Linked DNA regions of Homo sapiens: regions 1, 2, 3, 4, 5 and 6 are each linked to region 7. Evidence: promoter capture Hi-C in 16 types of primary human blood cells and fetal thymus (Javierre and others, 2016). All regions are on one chromosome and are shown on one strand. The core of a region is centred on a gene start or on the middle of the fragment in contact, and the rest is flanking DNA. Distances in the headings are between cores, read along the strand shown. Region 1 holds the start of ZNF283 (zinc finger protein 283). Region 2 has its middle 2.5 kb from the start of TEX101. Region 3 has its middle 9.7 kb from the start of KCNN4. Region 4 has its middle 23 kb from the start of LYPD3. Region 5 overlaps LYPD3 (LY6/PLAUR domain containing 3). Region 6 overlaps KCNN4 (potassium calcium-activated channel subfamily N member 4). Region 7 holds the start of ZNF428 (zinc finger protein 428).

What was found. The method cuts DNA at HindIII sites, captures the fragments that hold promoters and counts their contacts. A CHiCAGO score of 5 or more calls a contact.
Region 1: a contact is called between the fragment with the promoter of ZNF283 here and the fragment with the promoter of ZNF428 in region 7, in 15 of 17 cell types (activated CD4 T cells, neutrophils, monocytes and 12 more). The highest score is 23.5, in activated CD4 T cells.
Region 2: a fragment that was not itself captured here is called in contact with the fragment with the promoter of ZNF428 in region 7 in 1 of 17 cell types (total CD8 T cells); the score reaches 5.2 in total CD8 T cells.
Region 3: a contact is called between a fragment that was not itself captured here and the fragment with the promoter of ZNF428 in region 7, in 10 of 17 cell types (non-activated CD4 T cells, activated CD4 T cells, M2 macrophages and 7 more). The highest score is 8.7, in non-activated CD4 T cells.
Region 4: a fragment that was not itself captured here is called in contact with the fragment with the promoter of ZNF428 in region 7 in 9 of 17 cell types (naive CD8 T cells, activated CD4 T cells, total CD8 T cells and 6 more); the score reaches 10.7 in naive CD8 T cells.
Region 5: a fragment that was not itself captured here is called in contact with the fragment with the promoter of ZNF428 in region 7 in 11 of 17 cell types (fetal thymus, naive CD8 T cells, activated CD4 T cells and 8 more); the score reaches 12.4 in fetal thymus.
Region 6: a fragment that was not itself captured here is called in contact with the fragment with the promoter of ZNF428 in region 7 in 11 of 17 cell types (monocytes, non-activated CD4 T cells, activated CD4 T cells and 8 more); the score reaches 9.3 in monocytes.

What each region holds. Positions count from the first base shown.
Region 1 is chr19:43,826,033-43,828,732 of GRCh38, reverse strand. It overlaps ZNF283 (zinc finger protein 283), which reads right to left and starts at 1,412. Exons shown (of 7, transcript NM_181845.2): 1 at 1,289-1,412; 2 at 452-531. RefSeq lists an enhancer at 1,355-1,554. The HindIII fragment of the contact is 6,325 bases long and covers 1-2,700 here.
Region 2 is chr19:43,411,068-43,413,767 of GRCh38, reverse strand. It overlaps a transcript of TEX101 not described here. Among named protein-coding and RNA genes, the nearest start is that of TEX101, 2.5 kb to the left of the region's middle. RefSeq lists a silencer at 491-677. The HindIII fragment of the contact is 751 bases long and covers 1,029-1,779 here.
Region 3 is chr19:43,789,291-43,791,990 of GRCh38, reverse strand. No RefSeq gene overlaps it. Among named protein-coding and RNA genes, the nearest start is that of KCNN4, 9.7 kb to the right of the region's middle. The HindIII fragment of the contact is 2,711 bases long and covers 1-2,695 here.
Region 4 is chr19:43,441,166-43,443,865 of GRCh38, reverse strand. No RefSeq gene overlaps it. Among named protein-coding and RNA genes, the nearest start is that of LYPD3, 23 kb to the left of the region's middle. The HindIII fragment of the contact is 6,258 bases long and covers 1-2,700 here.
Region 5 is chr19:43,460,643-43,463,342 of GRCh38, reverse strand. LYPD3 (LY6/PLAUR domain containing 3) reads left to right here. Exons shown (of 5, transcript NM_014400.3): 4 at 56-217; 5 at 1,496-2,556. The coding sequence ends at 1,992. Among named protein-coding and RNA genes, the nearest start is that of LYPD3, 3.6 kb to the left of the region's middle. RefSeq lists enhancers at 67-116, 147-206. The HindIII fragment of the contact is 1,815 bases long and covers 505-2,319 here.
Region 6 is chr19:43,770,504-43,773,203 of GRCh38, reverse strand. It overlaps KCNN4 (potassium calcium-activated channel subfamily N member 4), which reads left to right. Exons shown (of 9, transcript NM_002250.3): 4 at 1,069-1,204. Among named protein-coding and RNA genes, the nearest start is that of KCNN4, 9.1 kb to the left of the region's middle. The HindIII fragment of the contact is 1,978 bases long and covers 460-2,437 here.
Region 7 is chr19:43,618,243-43,620,942 of GRCh38, reverse strand. ZNF428 (zinc finger protein 428) reads left to right here and starts at 1,314. Exons shown (of 3, transcript NM_182498.4): 1 at 1,314-1,385. It overlaps LOC105372411 (a long non-coding RNA gene), which reads right to left and starts at 1,882. Exons shown (of 4, transcript XR_001753942.2): 1 at 1,311-1,882. RefSeq lists a silencer at 1,261-1,500 and an enhancer at 1,305-1,955. The HindIII fragment of the contact is 4,307 bases long and covers 1-2,700 here.

The DNA of each region.
Region 1 (2,700 bases), core at 163-2,662, 210 kb before region 7:
ACTGAGCTATGACTATACTACTGCACTCAGCCTGGGCAACAGAGTGAGACCTTGTCTCTAAAAAAAGTTAAAAAAAAATTTTAATTATGACTACAGAAAAGATAAAAAATAATGTTTATATAACACCACCTAATTACTAATCTCTTCAAATAATCATAGTATAAAATAATGCTCTAATAGCAATCTACAAGAGGTGCCTTTCTATAACTCTTCAGTGCATCATAATGCACTGAAGTATTTGAACAATTTGCCATATGAACAGGTGGGTAAGAATTGTGGAGAAGAACAATAGGGGGCCACTGGGAGGAAATATGTACCAGCATGGCGGGTCATGTAACTGGGAAAACCCAGTCAAGATATTTCAGGCCAAGGAAAGAAAATGTTCTCATGACCTAGAAGCAAAGGTAATTGTATGTGTATGTATTTAAAAAGTATGTATAAAAAACCTCACCTGAACCTTGATTTCTAAACATGCAAAAATCCTTTTCTCCTCTTCAAACTCCTTCTTAGAAATCTGGCAACCTGGCAGCACTGGGGGAAAAAACAGTAACATGAGACATCAGCATTTCTAGCGCGTCACAGACTTAATTAAAAAAGAAAAAGAAGAGCAAAACACCCTCTGGGGCCACTTCTGCCTTCATCCACACAAAACCAAACGGAATGAAAAGGGAGGCTAGAGTCTGTCTCTGTGTTGAGGGCAATTCTTGGGGACAGAGGTCTGCTTGCAATGGCTCTGAAACATGTAGCTCACCACCAAAGAGCTCCTAGAGGCCCCTCTTCTAGGAATCCCACCTCTAGAACTTCCCCATCAGGTCTTGACAAGATCCTGTCCCGCGGACACTTCCAGATCTAAAATTCTCATCCTTCTTGCTTGAAACGTTCATTATGGGGCTTAGCATAGACTTCTTTCTTGCGGTCATTTAATTGTGGCAGGCCCGAAGACAGGCTAAAGGGAACCTAGAGCATTTGGTCAAAGCAAATCACATTTACAAATACGGCCACGCACCCTGTCAGCCCGTCACACATTCACAACTGCACCCACCTCCGTGGGGACACGCCCCGTCCCTGCCACGCCGTCTGAGACACACTGTCCCTCGGCTGCTCGCGTGCACACAGGCTTGAGGATCCGGACACGACACGCTCTGTCCGTGACCCAGCCCTCCCCACCTCCAGCACCCCCGATGCCACCCCCACCCTCACTGCCGGTTCCAGTCGGGCCCCAGTAAAGCCAGCCGAGCCCTCCCAGCTTCACCCGGGCTGATTACTTCTACAGACACGACCAACTCACCATGCAGAGTCCAAGAACCTTAAGGACACCGGAAAAGGACCCAGAGACCTGTGGTTAGTTTGGACCCAGAGGCTGATGGGAAACAAGAGCCTGGAAATGCTCGCAGGCTGGGAGAGGAGCTTCTGGCAGGCAAGCTCGCCCCGCCCCTAAAAGGCCTGTGCCCCGGAGACTTCTGGGAAATGTAGTCCACAGCGGCAGAGTCTCCGGAAGTTGAAACCTGGACAGCAGGGATGCTCCCAGCATGCAACTTGGCTTCACCTGTCAAAGGCGCTTTTTTCGAAGACGCCCGGGAGCTCTTGCTTTTGCTTGAGGGTCTTTGGTGTTGACTGAGAGCGAATTAAAAGGTTCTCAGCTTTCGCTAAGGAACGCATTCTGGAGTCTAGAACAGGCGAAGATGGGACTGGGGTGTCTGGGGACTTAGACGTGAGCGAGCAAGGGAATCCGGGGTAAGTTCGCTGGAAATGACCTGCGCGACACTACCAGTTTACCTGGGTATGAGCGCCTGGAACAGTGTCTGGCAATTGAACAGATGGGTGTGTCTTGCTGTGAGGGAGTTTCTTAGTTCGATTCGGTGTCTGGGACCCTGCGTGGACCTGTTTATGTTCATGGGATGTTTTCTAAATTTATGCCTGTGTGAGTCTGTTTTATTAGGTGTGAGATGAACTGTGTTACAGATTTTATATGCCGCTGTTGAAAGACAACAATAAGTGGTAGTGAGTGGATATTGTGACCGTGGAGACTTATGGCAGTGCAAAGGCGGCCATAAACAATGCACAAGCAATCCAGCATGGCTGTGTTCCAATAAAACTTGATGGATTATAAAATTTGAATCTCATTTTTTATAGAGTATGAAACCATTTATTCTGAAGCACACACTCATACTCCAAAAACAATACTATATATTCCCTCTCTCTCTCTCCTGTGTGTTTGCGTGTGTGTGTGTGTGGGTGTGTGAGAGAGAGAAAGGTTTTAAAGGAGACAACTAACTGATTCTGAGGTTAGGGCAAAAAGATTGGGGCTGTGGTTGGTGTGGTAAGAACCTTTGGATATAAATACTTTTTTAAAAAAGAATTGTCTAAAAATATTAAAGCGAAATTTTATATTAAAACTAACAGAAAGAAAAGGAAGTTACTTTTTAGGGGCTCTTTCTGGTCACTGATATCACCTCTCTCATCCTCTGCCATCTCTCACCTCCTGGTCTCTCTTGCTTATCAAGAGAAGACTAGAGCTCTTGGATCCCAGCTTTTCCCCTGCCTCAGCTGAGGCCACTACCCTGGTTGACTCCCATGGTGACATGGATGCCTCATCCAGTATCGTGGGTCTGAGTCCTCATCTGCAGGGTCCTTGAGCTTTCCTCGGCACCCATCCCCGTTTCCCATCTGGGACTTCATTATCATCAGCATCTGCTCCAC
Region 2 (2,700 bases), core at 155-2,654, 210 kb after region 7:
TTGACCAGGCTGGTCTTGAACTCCTAACCTCAGGTGATCTGCCCACCTCGGCCTCCCAGAGTACTGGGATTACAGACGTGAGCCACCACCCCTGGCCTATGTAAGCTTTCCAGGTGTGACATGAAGTTGTAGCAGGATGAGCTGCAGACAAAACTCCTCAGATACTGGATTAAAGAAGGAAGAGGTTTATTTGGCCGGGAGCCTCAGCAGACTTGCGTCTTAAGAGCCGAGCTCCCTGAAAAATAAATTCTTGGCCTTTTTTTTTTTTTTTGGAGTCTCCCTCTGTTGCCCAGGCTGGAGTGCAGTGGTGCAATCTCGGCTCACTGCAAGCTCTGCCTCCCGACTTCATGCCATTCTCCTGCCTCCGCCTCCCGAGTAGCTGGGACTACAGTCACCCACCACCACACCCGGCTAATTTTTTTGTATTTTTAGTAGAGATGGGGTTTCACTGTGTTAGCCAGGATGGTCTCGATCTCCTGACCTCGTGATCCGCCCGCCCCCCAAAGTGCTGGGATTACAGGCATGAGCCACCACGCCTGGCCAATTCTTGGCCTTTTTAAAGGCTTACAACTTCGAGGGGTCCACATGAAAGGGTCGTGATAAATCGAGCAAGCGTGGGAAACGTGACTGGGGGCTACATGCATCAGGTAACAGAACAGAAAGTTTTGCAATGCTTTTTCATATAATGTCTGGAACTTACAGATAACACAAGTAGTTTAGGTCAGGGGTTGCTGTTATTATTATTACTTTTTTTAACTCCTAGGGCTGGGTGGTGGTGCCAAGGTTGACTGGCTATTTATCTTACTTCTGTTTCTTTCCAACTTTTTGCTTTCTCTCTTTCCTCCTGTCTTGTGAACTAGGCAAGGTCGGGGGAGGAGGGCAGCAGGAGTAGTAGTGGTCTCCTTCCTTAAAGTAAGGCAACGCTTTGTATACTTTCAGAATTGGTACTGATTCTGTAAGTTATAGTATAAATGAGTATTTATTTTTAATAGAGAAAATGCCACAATAAGAAAGGGATTGGTAAAGCTTCAATCCCTTTGTTATCTTTGAACTGTTATCTTTGAATGATCACATGTCAAAGGATCCAGGAAGAATGTGTGCCAGTTTTCAGCCCCCGTCTGTCCCCCGAGGGCTCGTGCTTGGGAAAGCAGTCACCTTGTTGAGTCACTCTCCAGGTGACTTGGTCGCAGAATCCCTCCATCTCACACCTAGAAGAGACCTTGGAAGCCTAAGCACCCTCCACCTCTATTCTTCACCCCATTTCTGCTTCAACAGCTCCAGGGACCTCCTCTTGCTCCGTGACATAGTTTGGATATTTGTCCCCCGCCCAAATCTCATGTTGAAATGTAATTCCCAGTGTTGGAGATGCGACCTGGTGGAAGGTGTTTGGGTTATGGGGGCAGATCCTTCATGACTTGGTGCTGTCCTTGCAATGATGAGTGAGTCCTTGCCAGATCTGGTTGTTTAAGTGTGTGGCACCTCCCCTTCTTACTCTCTCTCGCTCCCCTTCTCTGGCCTGCATCCTTTTGCCATAAGTAAAAGCTCTCTGAGGCCTCCCCAGAAGGAGATGCTGGCACCACGCTTCCTGTACAGCTGCAGAACCTTGAGCCAATCAAACCTCTTTTCTTATAAATTACTTCTAGTCTCAGGTATTTCTTTATAGCAGTGCAAGAACACCCCAATACACAGCCCCTTGAGAAAGGTGGCTTTGCCTTTTTGGTGCAAGAGAGATTGACAGATCTTCCTTAGCCTGAGCCAATTTCTGTTCCTCTCCAAGCTTCAGTGTCCTCATCTAGAAAATGAAGAGGTTAGGCTGGGTGCAGTGGCTCAAGCCCATAATCCCAGCACTTTGGGAGGCCAAGGTGGGTGGTTCACCTGAGGTCAGGAGTTTGAGACCAGCCTGACCTTCACCAACACGGTGAAACCCTGTCTCTGCTAAAAATACAAAAATTAGCCAGGCCTGGTGGCACGCGCCTGTAATCCCAGCTACTTGGGAGGCTGAGGCAGGAGAATCACTTGAACCTGGGAGGCGGAGGTTGCAGTGAGCTGAGACTGCACCATTGCACTCCAGCCTGGGCAACAAGAGCAAAACTTGGTCTTGGTCTCAAAAAAAAAGAAAAAAAAGAAAAAAAAGAAAATGAGGAGGTTAGTCTAGAGCAATGGTTGGCAAATAGTTTATGAATCCATGGAACGTTTGTAAAAAAGAAAAAAGCTCAATGGCTAATATACAGTGAAGGCATCTTTTTATATAAGCACTTGTGACACCACCATTGGTCACTGGATTATTGCAGTACGCCCTGCCCTTGCCCATGTGGCTATTTCCCACCTGGCACCAGAGCGATCTCTTAATTGCAAGCCACACCACATTACTCCTGTTTAAAACTTTCTAATGGGCCAGGCACGGTGGCTCAGGCCTGTAATCCCAGCACTTTGGGAGGCCGAGGTGGTGGATCACCTGAGATCAGGAGTTCGAGACCAGCCTGGCCAACATGGTGAAACCCTGTCTCCACTAAAAATGAAAAAATTAGCTGGGCGTGGTGGTGCGCCCCTGTAATCCCAGCTACTCTGGATGCTGCAGCGAGAGAATCATTTGAACCTGGGAGGTGGAGGCTGCAGTGAGTCAAGATTGTGCTACTGCACTGCAGCCTGGGTGACAGAGCAAGACTCTGTTTCAAAAAAACCAAAACCTTCCAGTGGATT
Region 3 (2,700 bases), core at 91-2,590, 170 kb before region 7:
GTGGCTCACACCTGTAATCCCAGCAATTTTGGAGGCAGAGGCAGAAGGATTGCTTTAGCCCAGGAGTGCGAGACTAGCCTGGGCAATGTAGCAAGACCCCGTCTCTCTAAACAATTTAATTAAAAGTAAAATAGGCTGGGCACAGTGGCTCACGCCTGTAATCCCAGCACTTTGGGAGGCCGAGGCGGGCGGATCACGAGGTCAGGAGATCAAGACCATCCTGGCTAACATGGTGAAACTCTGTCTCTACTAAAAATACAAAAAATTAGCCAGGCGTGGTGGCAGGTGCCTGTAGTCCCAGCTACATGGGAGGCTGAGGCAGGAGAATGGTGTGAACCTGGAAGGCAGAGCTTGCAGGGAGCCGAGATTGCGCCACTGCACTCCAGCCTGGGCGACAGAGTGAGACTCCATCTCAAAAAAAGAAAAAAAAGTAAAATAAAAGGCTTCATTTATTAGCAAGGATGTGGAGCTACTGGGATTCTCACATCCAAGTAGTATGTGTGTAAAATAGAACAACCACTTTGAAAAACTATTTTTCAGTACCTACCTGTGTTTAAAGTGTGAGGAAAGCCAGAAGCAGTGGCTCACTCCTGTAATCCCCGCACTTTGGGAGGCCAAGGTAGAAGGAACACTTGAGCCCAGGACTTTGAAACCAACCTGGGCAACATGGTGAGACCTTATCTCTACAAAAAACTAAAAATATTAGTGGGGCATGATGGTGCATGCCTGTGGTCTCACCTACTAGAGAGGCTGAGGTGGGAGGATTGCTTGAGCCCAGGTATTTGAGGTTGCAGTGAGCTATGATCGCTCCATTGCACTCCAGCCTGGGCAACAGAGTAAGACACTGTCTCTATTTTTTTTTAAGTGAAGAAGATGTGAATGAAGATGTGGCAGTGCCCCTGAAGGGCTTACAATGTCAAATAGGGATAACATTTTCTGAACTTTCTCCTACAGCCAATGGGGATACATGGACTGATATAGAGAAGGGGCGAGGCATGGTCAAAGCCAGGTGATATGAGGCTCTCCCTGTGGCCATGCAGGAGACAGGCCCGAGGGAGTGAGATTGGAGGCAGGGAGACCAGGGAGGTGGATGGTGAGAGGGCCTCTCATGCTGCCTGGTTTCCAGAGTCAAGGGCAATTTAGGATTAAAAGGCTGGAGGCAGAAGGAGGAACTGAGAAACCAGAGTGTGAGTGTTATGGTCTACGAGGAGTTAAAGTCCCTTCTAAGTGAGGGTAGTGGTTTCCTCTGGAGGTTGGGGGTTCCCGATCATAAAGGAGCACATAAGGAGATTCTAGGGAATGCAAATACTTTCTCTTGGTGTGCCTTTGATTTTATGGAGGTTCACAATACATCATTTGTCCAAAATGTACCACTATGTTTTATGCACTTTTGGCATATAAGGTATATTTTATTTATTTATTTGTTTTTGTTGTTTTTATTTTTTGAGACAGAGTCTCGCTCTGTCGCCCAGGCTGGAGTGCAGTGGCACAATCTTGGCTCACTGCAAGCTCCGCCTCCTGGGTTTACGCCATTCTCCTGCCTCAGCCTCCCGAGTAGCTGGGACTATAGGCGCCCACCACCATGCCCGGCTAATTTTTTTTTTGTATTTTTAGTAGAGACGGGGTTTCACCGTGTTAGCCAGGGTGTTCTCGATCTCCTGACCTCATGATCTACCTGCCTCGGCCTCCCAAAGTGCTAGGATTACAGGCTTGAGCCACCGCGCCAGACCTATTTTTTTTTTAATGTCAAAAGCAAAGACATGGCTAGAGCTCAGGTCTTTGGACATCCATATTAGAGCTTTTTAATCTTTGGTGATAGGGATTCAGAATACTGGTTATCTCTGGTGTATCAGTTGGGAGGGTTACAAGAGAGCCTCTTGTGGTGATGGAGATAGCTTGATAGAGATGGTGGTCACACATGTCTGTATACAGGTTTAACTGAATTAATCCATACACTTAAGATCTGCGGACTTGCAATGTGTAAGTCTGTCTTAGGTCAGTCCTGGTGGCTCACGCCTGTAATCCCAGCACTTTGGGAGGTCGAGGTAGGAAAATTGCTTGAAGCCAGGAGTTCAGGACCAGCCTGGCCAACATAGAGAGACCCTGTCTTTACTAAAAATTTTAAAAGTAACTAGGTGCAGTGGTGTGCGCCTGTAGTCCCAGCTACCTGGAAGGCTGATGCAGGAGGATCTCTTGGGGGCAGGAGGTCGAGGCTGCAGTGAGCTATGATTGGGCCGCTGCACTCAGCCTGGGTGACAGAGTGAGACCCTGCCTCTAAAAAGAAAAAGAAAACAATTTTAAATGCCACATATGATTAAATGGTATTACCTCTAGGTTTTACACTGAAATAACATAGGAAGTGAGGAAGTAAATGGAAGCACAGATGAAATGCAATTGACCACGAATTGGTATTTGTTAAATAGATACATGGAGATTTATTATACTCTTCTGTTCACTTCTATATGTTTGAAGTTCTCGATAATAAATATATATGTACACATATATGAATATGTATGTATATATGAAAAGGTAGATAATAGATAGAACTAATACCTATTTAACTCACAGTGACCCATACACCCACTTGGGAACCCAGACATCTCTCTTCTTCTGGTAATGCAGATAATGATTATTTAATGTCTGGATTTTACATACAACCTTGCCCCTTCCCAAGATTCCCCCACCCTCCCAAGCTTAAGC
Region 4 (2,700 bases), core at 181-2,680, 180 kb after region 7:
TCACCTTGAGTTGTCCCACCTTTCTGGACTGAACCAATGTACATCTTACACCTACTGATTGATGTCTCATGTCTTCCTAAAAGGTATAAAACCAAGCTGTGCCCCTACCACCTTGGGCACGTGTCATCAGGACCTCCTGAGGCTGTGTCATGTGCGTGCATTCTCAACCTTGGTCTCCTAATTAACTTTCTGAATTAACTGAGACCTGTCTCAGATTTTCGGGGTTCACAGAGCAATTTATAAATCTTAACCCTGGTGATATGGTTTGGCTCTGTGTCCCCCCAAAACCTCATCTCAAATTGTAATCCCCACATGTGGAGGGAGGGACCTGGTGGGAGGTGATTCGATCTTGGGGGTGGTTCCCCCATGCAGTTCTCATGAGATCTGATGGTTTATAAGTGGCCGTTTCCCCTGCACTGTCTCTCCTGCCACCTTGTGAAGAAGGTGCTTGCTTCCCCTTCCCCTTCCGCCATGAGTGTAAGTTTCCTGAGGCTTCCTCAGCAATGTGGAACTGCAGGTCAATTAAACCTCTTTTGTTTATAAATTACCCAGTCTCAGGTAGTATCTTTTTTTTTGAGACAGAGTTTCCCTCTTGTTGCCCAGGCTGGAGTGCAGTAGTGCGATCTCGGCTCACAACCTCTGTCTCCTGGATTCAAGTGATTCTCCTGCCTCAGCCTCCTGAGTAGCTGATTACAGGTGCCTGCCACCATGCCTGACTTTTTTTTTTTTTTTGTATTTTTAGTAGAGACGGGTTTTCATCATGTTAGCCAGGCTGGTCTTGAACTCCTGACATCGGGTGATCTACCCACCTCAGCCTCCCAAAGAGTAGGGATTACAGGCATGAGCCACCTTGTCTGGCCAGTATCTTTATAGCAGGTAGTATCTTTATAGCAGTGTGAGAATGGACTAATACACCCTTTAATCTTTTCCTCACTTCCTTCAACACTAATGATTTTTGTGAACATTTATCTACTAACATATATTTAACATTATCTTTTTAAAAATTTTTTTGTGAGAGGGGGTCTTGCTCTGTCACCCAGCCTGGGGTGCAGTGGTGTGATCGCAGCTCATGGCAGCCTTGACCTCCTAGGCTTAGGCGATCCTTCTGCCTTAGTTTTCCAAGTAGCTGGGACCACAAGTGTGCACCACCATGCCTAGCTAATTTTTAGATTTTTTTTTTTTTTTTTTGAGACAGAGTCTCGCTCTGTCACCAGGCTGGAGTGCAGTGGTGCCATCTTGGCTCACTGCAACCTCTGCCTCCCAGGTTCAAACAATTCTCTTGCCTCAGCCTCCTGAGTAGCTGGGATTACAGGTGTATGCCACCATGCCTGGCTAATTTTTATATTCGTAGTAGAGATGGGGTTTCATTATATGTTGACCAGGCTGGTCTCAAATTCCTGACCTCAGGTGATCCACCTGCCTCAGCCTCCCAAAGTCCTGGAATTACAGGCGTGAGCCACCACACTCGGCCTTTTTAAATCACGTAAATAATACACAGACTTAATCCTGCTATAGAAATTCAAATGTAGAGTCAACCGTGAAAGTTTCCCTTGTCAAGATTCCCTGGCATCTCCTCTTCCATTCTACTTAGGACCTTGGAATGGGGAGATGCTGCATTTTGGAGGTAAAAATTCCAATAGTAAAGTGAAAGCTAGCATTTACTAAGCAGTCCCCATGACCCAGGCACATATGAACTTTTGAAGGTTATCAGAATCAAAATGGAGTCACTCATGTTAAAAAAAAGAAAAAGAAAAAAAAGCTCCGACCAACAGAGTGAAGGAAAGCCATGGAGAGAGGGTTCTCATACTTGTATGACTGATCACAAAAACTATCACAAAAAAACTGCAAAAAACACAATCTCACACAAAGACCATTGCAAACTTACACAGAAAAATACTTCTGCAAGGACGTTTGCCCAGCAACTGCCTGTCCAACCCCAGACTGGCATCATCTTTGTGATTCATTTTTCTAGCCAAAGATGATTATTTCAAAACCATTATGTAATTCTCCTCATTTTTTTTCTTTAAAAACCTTTGTCTTCTTTGACCTCCTTGAATATGTATAACACTCCTATTCCCATTGCAATTCTCTGTTCTTGAATAAACTTTTTTTTTTTTTTTGAGATGTAGTTTCACTCTTTCGCCCATGCTGGAGTGCAGTGGCATGAACTTGGCTCACTGCAACCTCCACCCCCCGGGTTCAACTGATTCTCCTGCCTTGGCCTCCCTAGCAGCTGGGATTACATGCACCTGCCATGATGCCTGGCTAATTTTTGTATTTTTAGTAGAGATGAGGCTTTGCCATGTTGGTCAGGTTCGTCTCGAACTCCTGACCTCAAGTGATCCACCCGCCTCGGCCTCCCAAAGTGCTAGGATTACAGACGTGAGCCACCTCGCCCAACCAATTTTTGTTTCTTTTAGAGAGCCTCTCGCTGTTTGTTATCTAGGTTGACAACTAATTTAATCACAATAAAATCCACACTCCAAGCTAGGAGTGGCCTGTGCCTGTAGTCTCAGCTACGTGGGAGGCTAAGACAGGAGAATAGCTTGAGCCCAGGAGGTTGAGGCTGCAGTGAGCCATGATTGTGCCACTATACTCCAGCCTGGGCGATAGAGCAAGACCCTGCCTTAAAAAAAAAAATGGCTGGACACGGTGGCTCACGCCTGTAATCTCAGCACTTTGGGAGGCTGAGGTGGGTGG
Region 5 (2,700 bases), core at 163-2,662, 160 kb after region 7:
GCTGCGGTTCCCGAACCCTTTCGACACCTTTTCTTCCTCTCGGCTCCCCTCGCAGGTAATGAGAGTGCATACCCGCCCAACGGCGTGGAGTGCTACAGCTGTGTGGGCCTGAGCCGGGAGGCGTGCCAGGGTACATCGCCGCCGGTCGTGAGCTGCTACAACGCCAGCGATCATGTCTACAAGGGCTGCTTCGACGGCAACGTCACCTTGACGGCAGGTGAGGGAGCCCCGGAGCACGGGACCTACGGGAGTTGTGGTAGCCCTTCTGAAGCACCCTGGGCGGTAGGGAGCCCTTTACCCAAAGCGTTTCCTTAACCTGCGACGCATTCTGGGAATCGTGGGGCCTAGGTGCTTGTATCGTAGGGCATCATGGAAAATGCAGTCCCTTCCCCCAACATATTAATAGTGTGGGGATAGTGATGCTTTGTCCCAGAGTGTTTTGGAGGGAAATGCATTTCCATAGAGGGCTGCCAGGTACTTAAGAGGTATTTAAGCCTCTAAGCTTCTGCCCAGGCACTGCGGGGAATCTCTAGTTCTTAGCCCTTAAAACTCAAGGGGTCCCCCGCCTGTCCCAGACTATTGAGAAATGTAACCATGGAAAATGAAGTTCTTCAAATCCCATCCCCTGCCAGTTATGCTATGGAAGATGTAGTTCTTTTTTATTTTATTATTACTATTTTTTTTTAAAGACAGCATCTTGCTCTATCGCCTAGCCTGGAGTGTAGTGGCGCAATCATAGCTCACTGCAGCCTCTACCTCTTGGGCTCAAGCAGTCCTCCCGCCTCAGCCTCCCAAGTAGCTGGGACTACAGGGTGCACCGCCACGACTGGTTCCTTTTATTTTTGGTAACAGTGGGGTCTTGCCATGTTACCCAGGCTGGTATTGAACTCTTGGGCTAAGAGATCCCCCTGCCTAGGTCTCCCAGAGTGCTGGGATTACAGCCGTGAACCACTGAGCCTGGTGTGGAGATGTAACTCTGACTCTAAGAGTAAATTCTGATGGGGAGGTAAAAGCCAGGGTGAAGGCTAAGGGGATAATGGTGAGAGGGTTGTAGAGGAAGTTTGTTCTGCACTGTGGTCTTGTGAGAGGTCTTGTATCTCAGTCTAAGCCTTTGTTTTAAACCCTACTTTTGGTTCAGCCTACACACATTTCCATTCAAAGCACAATGGAAAATGTTAATCCACCATGTGCCAAAGACAGTGAGTCTGTCTGTTTCTCATAGTAGGACCTGAGTTGAGATTTTGGGATTAATGGATGCAGAGACTTTCTGTCTCATTTTGGGGGTTCTCTGTTCTTTTTTTTTTTTGCAAGACAGAGTCTCACTCTGTTGCCCAGTGATCCACCTGCCTCGGCTTCCCAAAGTGCTGGGATTACAGGCGTGAGCCACCACGCCCGGTCAGGTTCTCTGTTCTTGTCTGATGCCTCTAAGTTTTGTTCTGGCCATGTCAACCTCTCTCCCTCCAGCCACTGACCTATCTGTGTCTCCTTCCTGCAGCTAATGTGACTGTGTCCTTGCCTGTCCGGGGCTGTGTCCAGGATGAATTCTGCACTCGGGATGGAGTAACAGGCCCAGGGTTCACGCTCAGTGGCTCCTGTTGCCAGGGGTCCCGCTGTAACTCTGACCTCCGCAACAAGACCTACTTCTCCCCTCGAATCCCACCCCTTGTCCGGCTGCCCCCTCCAGAGCCCACGACTGTGGCCTCAACCACATCTGTCACCACTTCTACCTCGGCCCCAGTGAGACCCACATCCACCACCAAACCCATGCCAGCGCCAACCAGTCAGACTCCGAGACAGGGAGTAGAACACGAGGCCTCCCGGGATGAGGAGCCCAGGTTGACTGGAGGCGCCGCTGGCCACCAGGACCGCAGCAATTCAGGGCAGTATCCTGCAAAAGGGGGGCCCCAGCAGCCCCATAATAAAGGCTGTGTGGCTCCCACAGCTGGATTGGCAGCCCTTCTGTTGGCCGTGGCTGCTGGTGTCCTACTGTGAGCTTCTCCACCTGGAAATTTCCCTCTCACCTACTTCTCTGGCCCTGGGTACCCCTCTTCTCATCACTTCCTGTTCCCACCACTGGACTGGGCTGGCCCAGCCCCTGTTTTTCCAACATTCCCCAGTATCCCCAGCTTCTGCTGCGCTGGTTTGCGGCTTTGGGAAATAAAATACCGTTGTATATATTCTGCCAGGGGTGTTCTAGCTTTTTGAGGACAGCTCCTGTATCCTTCTCATCCTTGTCTCTCCGCTTGTCCTCTTGTGATGTTAGGACAGAGTGAGAGAAGTCAGCTGTCACGGGGAAGGTGAGAGAGAGGATGCTAAGCTTCCTACTCACTTTCTCCTAGCCAGCCTGGACTTTGGAGCGTGGGGTGGGTGGGACAATGGCTCCCCACTCTAAGCACTGCCTCCCCTACTCCCCGCATCTTTGGGGAATCGGTTCCCCATATGTCTTCCTTACTAGACTGTGAGCTCCTCGAGGGCAGGGACCGTGCCTTATGTCTGTGTGTGATCAGTTTCTGGCACATAAATGCCTCAATAAAGATTTAATTACTTTGTATAGTGCTTTAAAGGAGTCACTTCCACCTTGTTTCTCGCAATAACCGCTCTAGCTGAGCTAGGGTGGGCATCATAAAGCCTTTAACGGGAGAGATATGGGACCTAGAGCCGCAGTCCTGGGGGAAGTCACGGTTGAACTTTAATCTCCTG
Region 6 (2,700 bases), core at 199-2,698, 150 kb before region 7:
TGCCTCAGCCTCCCTAGTGGCTGGGATTACGGATGTGCACCACCATGCCTGACTAGTTTTTGTATTTTTAGTAGAGACCACGTTACCGTGTTGCCCAGGCTGGTTTTGAACTCTTGATTTCAAGTGATCCTCCTGCCTAAGCCTCCCAAAGTGCTGGGATTACCATGCCCGCCCTCTGTCATGAGTTTAAACTCCTTCACCTTCCAGGATCTTAGTTTTCACAATTGGGAAATTGGTCAGAATCAGGATTAATGAATGATCCCCCCACCATGTTTCTCAATTGAATGATGGGAGAATGGGGAGGAAGTCAAAGTTCCACATTCCAAGGCAGAAGTCCTGAAACTAGAATGTACTTCGGAATGAGGGGGTGGGGTTTGTGAACAGTACAGATTCCATCTTCGCTCCTAGAAACTCCAACCCGGTGGGTCTGGGGTGTCAGGGGCCCTCATGAATGAAGCTTTCCCTGCTGGTCTTGCGGCAAGGGGCCTGTGGACAAAGTTAGACAAATCTCAATGTTTCAACCCCTTCCATGGCTGGACTTAAATGTCTCCTCTGTGAAGTGAGAGGAAAGGAAGGCCGAGTCCCACCAAGCCTTTTTAGAGTCCTTTTTGGTCCTGATAGGGCCACTTCTGGACCACACAGCATCTTTGTGGAAATTAGAAAAATATACCCCTTCCTCTGGGTGGATGTAGCCACCAGTCAGGGTCTGACTGGGTTTTGGCCCCCTATCGACTCTCCACCCTCAACCACACGCTCTGAATGCTACAGCAGCCCGGGTAGCCTAGCTGAGACCATACCGGCATTGGGATTGGCCAGACCCAGTCTCAAATCCCAGAGTGGCTAAGCAACTTGCCCAGGTCACACAGCAGAGAGGAGGCCATGCAGGCTTTCCAAAGCTCAGAACTTAATGGCTTTTTGTCCAGGTGATTCTTAGGACTATGGGTGTATACTGGGAGGGGAAGGGAGGGAACCAGAGGGAAGGGGATGGGAGGGTATAGAGGGAAGGGGAGTGAATATCATGGAAACCTCTATGGTGGGGTTTTAGAACTAACCTACCCTTCCCCATAGGCAGGCTGTTAATGCCACTGGGCACCTTTCAGACACACTTTGGCTGATCCCCATCACATTCCTGACCATCGGCTATGGTGACGTGGTGCCGGGCACCATGTGGGGCAAGATCGTCTGCCTGTGCACTGGAGTCATGGTGAGTACAGCTGCCTTGGGGACATGATCCCTATCCCAAACTGGTCATCCTCTGGCCCCAGGAAGCCATGATTAAATGGGTTCAACACAGGCTCTCAGGGACAGCTCCTGAGAAACTTGAGTGTCTGGGGCCCCCAGAGCCCCATTCTCTCTTCAAGAACAAGATACTCACCTGTAATCCCAATATTTTGGGAGGCCAAGGTGGGAGGATCACTTGAGCCCAAGAGTTTGAGGGTACAGTGAGCTATGATCATACTGCTGCACTCCAGCCTGGGTGGCAGAGTGAGACCCTGTCTCTTAAAAAATAAAATAAAAAATCAGACCTAGGAATCCAGCCCCTAAGTCCTTGCTCTCTCTAGAACCTAGGGCCCCAGCCCTTATCCTCCTCAGGGACCCAGGCTCCTGACTTCGCAGCCCCATTTTCTTCCAGAACTGGGAAATCGTCTCCCAGCCTCCATCAAGGGTGTAGAGTCCAGTTATCAAGTGCATACCTGTGGGGCCAGGCTACCTGGGTCCGAATCCTGCGGCTGCCACTTCCTGGCTGGGGAGCTCAGGCGAGCCACGTGATCTCTCGGGGCCTCACTTTCCTCATCTATAAAATGGGGATGCTGATGCTCCTCATGGGCTTGCTGAGATGATTAAATGGGTCCAACTACGTAAAGTGCTTCCAACAGTGCCCAGCCCACAGGAGGTGCTCAGTAAACAGGTCTAGGGGTGGCCAGGCATCCAGCCACCCCACACCAGCTCCTGTTGCCCTCAAGGATGAGGCAGAGGCTCTGCAGCCTGAGTCAGCCTCTTCCTGAACCCTGACATCCACCTCCTTCCCTCCATAGACCCAGTCACTCAGGTCCTCCCACCCAGCCCTGGCCCCCTCTAGAGACTAGCACCTAATGCCTTGGCCTTCACCTCCCTACAAGATCGGGTTCCCCTCACCCTCGGGGACCTAAGCCACCAGCACCTAGCCCAGATGTGGGCCTAGGAAGGACATATTCATCCCCCAATCCCTAGGTGCACAGGTGAAGGATGTGGTGACCTCCACTCCCCCAGTGGTGAGTCTTTGGAGCAAGGGAAGAGGGGCAGAGACTCAGTTAGGGACCTGCAGCACCGCTCAGGACCTCCTCCCTCATTTGACAAAAGGAGAAACAGAAACCTAGAGAGATAGGGTGATGTGCACTTGAGCTCACAGCCTGCTCCTGGAAGAAAGGCTCCATGGCATGGTTGGGCCATAAAAGCTTACTTTTCCGGAGCACATACTCTGTGCCAGTCTCTGCCCTACACACTTGCCAGGGGTAATTCATGAAATCCACCTAGTAACCCTGTGAGGCCATTTCACAGATGAGACACTGAAATACTGAGAGATTAAATAACTTGCTCAGAGCTGGGCTTGGAACCCAGGCAGTCCCCTGGAGCCAGCGTTTGTGACTGGAAGTTGTTCTGAGTGATCAAGAGCTGAAACTATAGGGTTGGGGATGCTTCCTAGGAAGATTCCTTCTAACT
Region 7 (2,700 bases), core at 65-2,564:
AAGCCTCTCAGATTGACATCTGTACCAAGATATGAATGGTGAGCACAAGAGTAGGTATTCAAAGGTCAGAGGGAAAAGCATTTTCAGGCGGAGGGAACGGCAAGAGCAGAGGCCCGAGCTGGTAAAGAGTTTGGGGTAAGGTGGAGCTGGACAGAAATGGAGGGAGGAGGAAGTAGGTGGGGTCAGAAAGATAAGCACGGCCAGACCAGGTGTATAGCCCTGAGGCCATGATAAAGATTTTTGGATTTTTTTTTTTTCCTAATGGGATCCCTTTGGGGGAGTTTTAAGCCAGAATGTGACAAAGTCACTTACAGGAAGACTGGAATGTAGCCATAGTTGAACTCTAACATCGTCTATAGAACCATTTCCCGTCTCCAGTTAGGTTCTAGGCATACTAAGCTGCTCTTGCTTCCTCAATCAAAACATGCGCTTCTATTTTTTTTTTTTTTTTTTTGGCCTCTGGGCCTTGGCGCTTGCAGTTCATTCTGCCAGACCCATTCCCATTCTAGTTGGCTCCTATTCGTACTTGGCTTAAGGATCACCACCTCCTGGAAGTCTTTCTAGAACCAGAGGCCGGGGCAAGCGCCTCTTAGGCTCCCACAGCCCCCTGTGTTCCTCACTCCAGGTCTGACCTTCTGGGTAGTAGTTGTCTAATTAGGTGCGTATCTCCTTCGACTGGGGTGCCGTGAGTACAGGAGTATGGTTCACTGCAGAAACCACAGAATCCGCCAGCATGGGGCCTGACACCTAGGAGATCAATAAACCTTTATCCTGGTTGGGAGGGGTCCTGGCCCTCGTGCCCTCTCTCAGGATGCAAACTGATCCCCTACGAAGACAAGGCTACCCACTTCGCGTCAGTCTGCAGTCCCTGCGCGCATGCGCTTTGCTCAGGTTGCCCCCGCCATATGCTAATCACTGCGCTCTGGAGTAAGGCCCCTCCGGGGAATATGCAAATCACTCCTTCCAGTGCGGGAGGCCTTTCATTGTCCCGCGCTAGGATTATGCAAATAAGCAGGCCTCGGGCCCAGGATCCAGTCCGAACTAGCGCCCTCCACCCCCAGCGCATCCCAGTTTTGTAAGGCGCGTTCCTGCCCCGCACACGCACGCGCGAACCCTTCAGCTTCTTGTTCCTTTGGGCCGCGGGCTGTACCAAGTAAACCCAGGCAGCGAGGGGCAAAGCACGGCGCCCCCCGCGCGGGTCTCGTCGACGGCCCGACGCGCATAGCCCCTCTTCCCACAGCGCTACAGGACTAGTCCGTCTCGCCGCGCAAGCGCCCTAGGCTCTTCACGCCCCCTGCGCGCTGTCCTACCCTACTTGCGACGCAGGCGCAGAGGCTGGGCGTGCAGCCGCCGCCGCAGAGCCGGAGCGGGGGCCGCCGGCGCCGGTGAGTGTCCCGGGCAGGGGTGCGCGAGGCATGCCGGGAAGCGGGCGCTACGGCCCCGCTGCATGATGGGAGCGACGACTCCCGTCACCGGGGAGCCGGCGGTCTGGGGCCGTGGTGACCCGAGGGCTTCTTTTTCTCCCCCTACGCGTTTGTGCCGCCCTGGGGCATCCTGGGAGAACCGAGCGCTCCGCCTTGAAGCGCTGTGGGAGTCGGTCCGCTAGTCGTAGGCCTGGTGCATCCTGGGAAAGAGTGTCCCAGATCCTTGTCGAGACCGGTTCCTTTTATCCCACACCTGCCGCTGACCGTCCTGGAGGCTTGGAGCGCTTCCACACGGGGAGTCTGGGAAGGTGGTCGCTATAGGCCTAAGGCATCCTGGGAAGAACTGCCACAACGAATTGTGGGAACTGGCCGTTATTGTCCCGTAGTGGAAGGTTTTGCCCTGGTCTCTTTGCTCGAGCATTGGAACGGGTGCCTATTGTGTTCACGCGGGGCATCTTGGGAATTGACTGCTATAGGCCCAGGGCATTGTGGGGTCTCCAGCACTGTGTTTGCCTTTCAGTTTGGCTGCCATAGGCGTGGTAGGAGTGGGACTTGTGAACCAAGGGATGGCCCTACCTGACGTCTGGAATACTCTGGAAGGGGCCTTGTGTGACGTGGGCTTGGAAAAGTGTAGGCTGATGGGCATTGTCTCCTGGTAACTTCAGGGAATGTCTTGATTGTCCCAGGTGTGTGGTTGCCGTATAAAATATACAATGTCTAGTTAAATTTGAATTTCAGATAAACAATTATATCCAAAAGATACAACCTTTTAGAAAAGTATGTCCCAAATATCACATGGAACATAGCTATATTAATTCTTTGGGCTAGTTGCAGTGATACCAATACTTTGGGAGGCTAAGGCAGGAGGATCGCTTGAGACCAGGAGTTCAAGACCAGCCTGGGCAATATAGTGAGACCCCCGTCTCTACAAAAAAAAAAAAAAAAAAAAAAAGTAAAAATTAAGCCTGGCATGGTGGCGCATACCTGTAGTCCCAGCTGCTCTCCTAGGGGCTAGTAGGGTACCTTGAGCACAGGAGTTTGAGGTTACAGTGAGCTAACCTCCCAACCTGGTTATGGGGGAGTACATGAGTTAAGGCCTGGAAGCCCCTTTCCTACAGATCACCCTACTGCACTCCAGCCTGGGCAACTGAGCGAGACCCTGTCTCTTAAAAAATATAAATAAGTAGGCTGGGCGCGGTGGCTCACGCCTGTAATCCCAGCACTTTGGGAGGCCGAGGCGGGTGGATCACGAGGTCAGGAGATCGAGATCATCCTG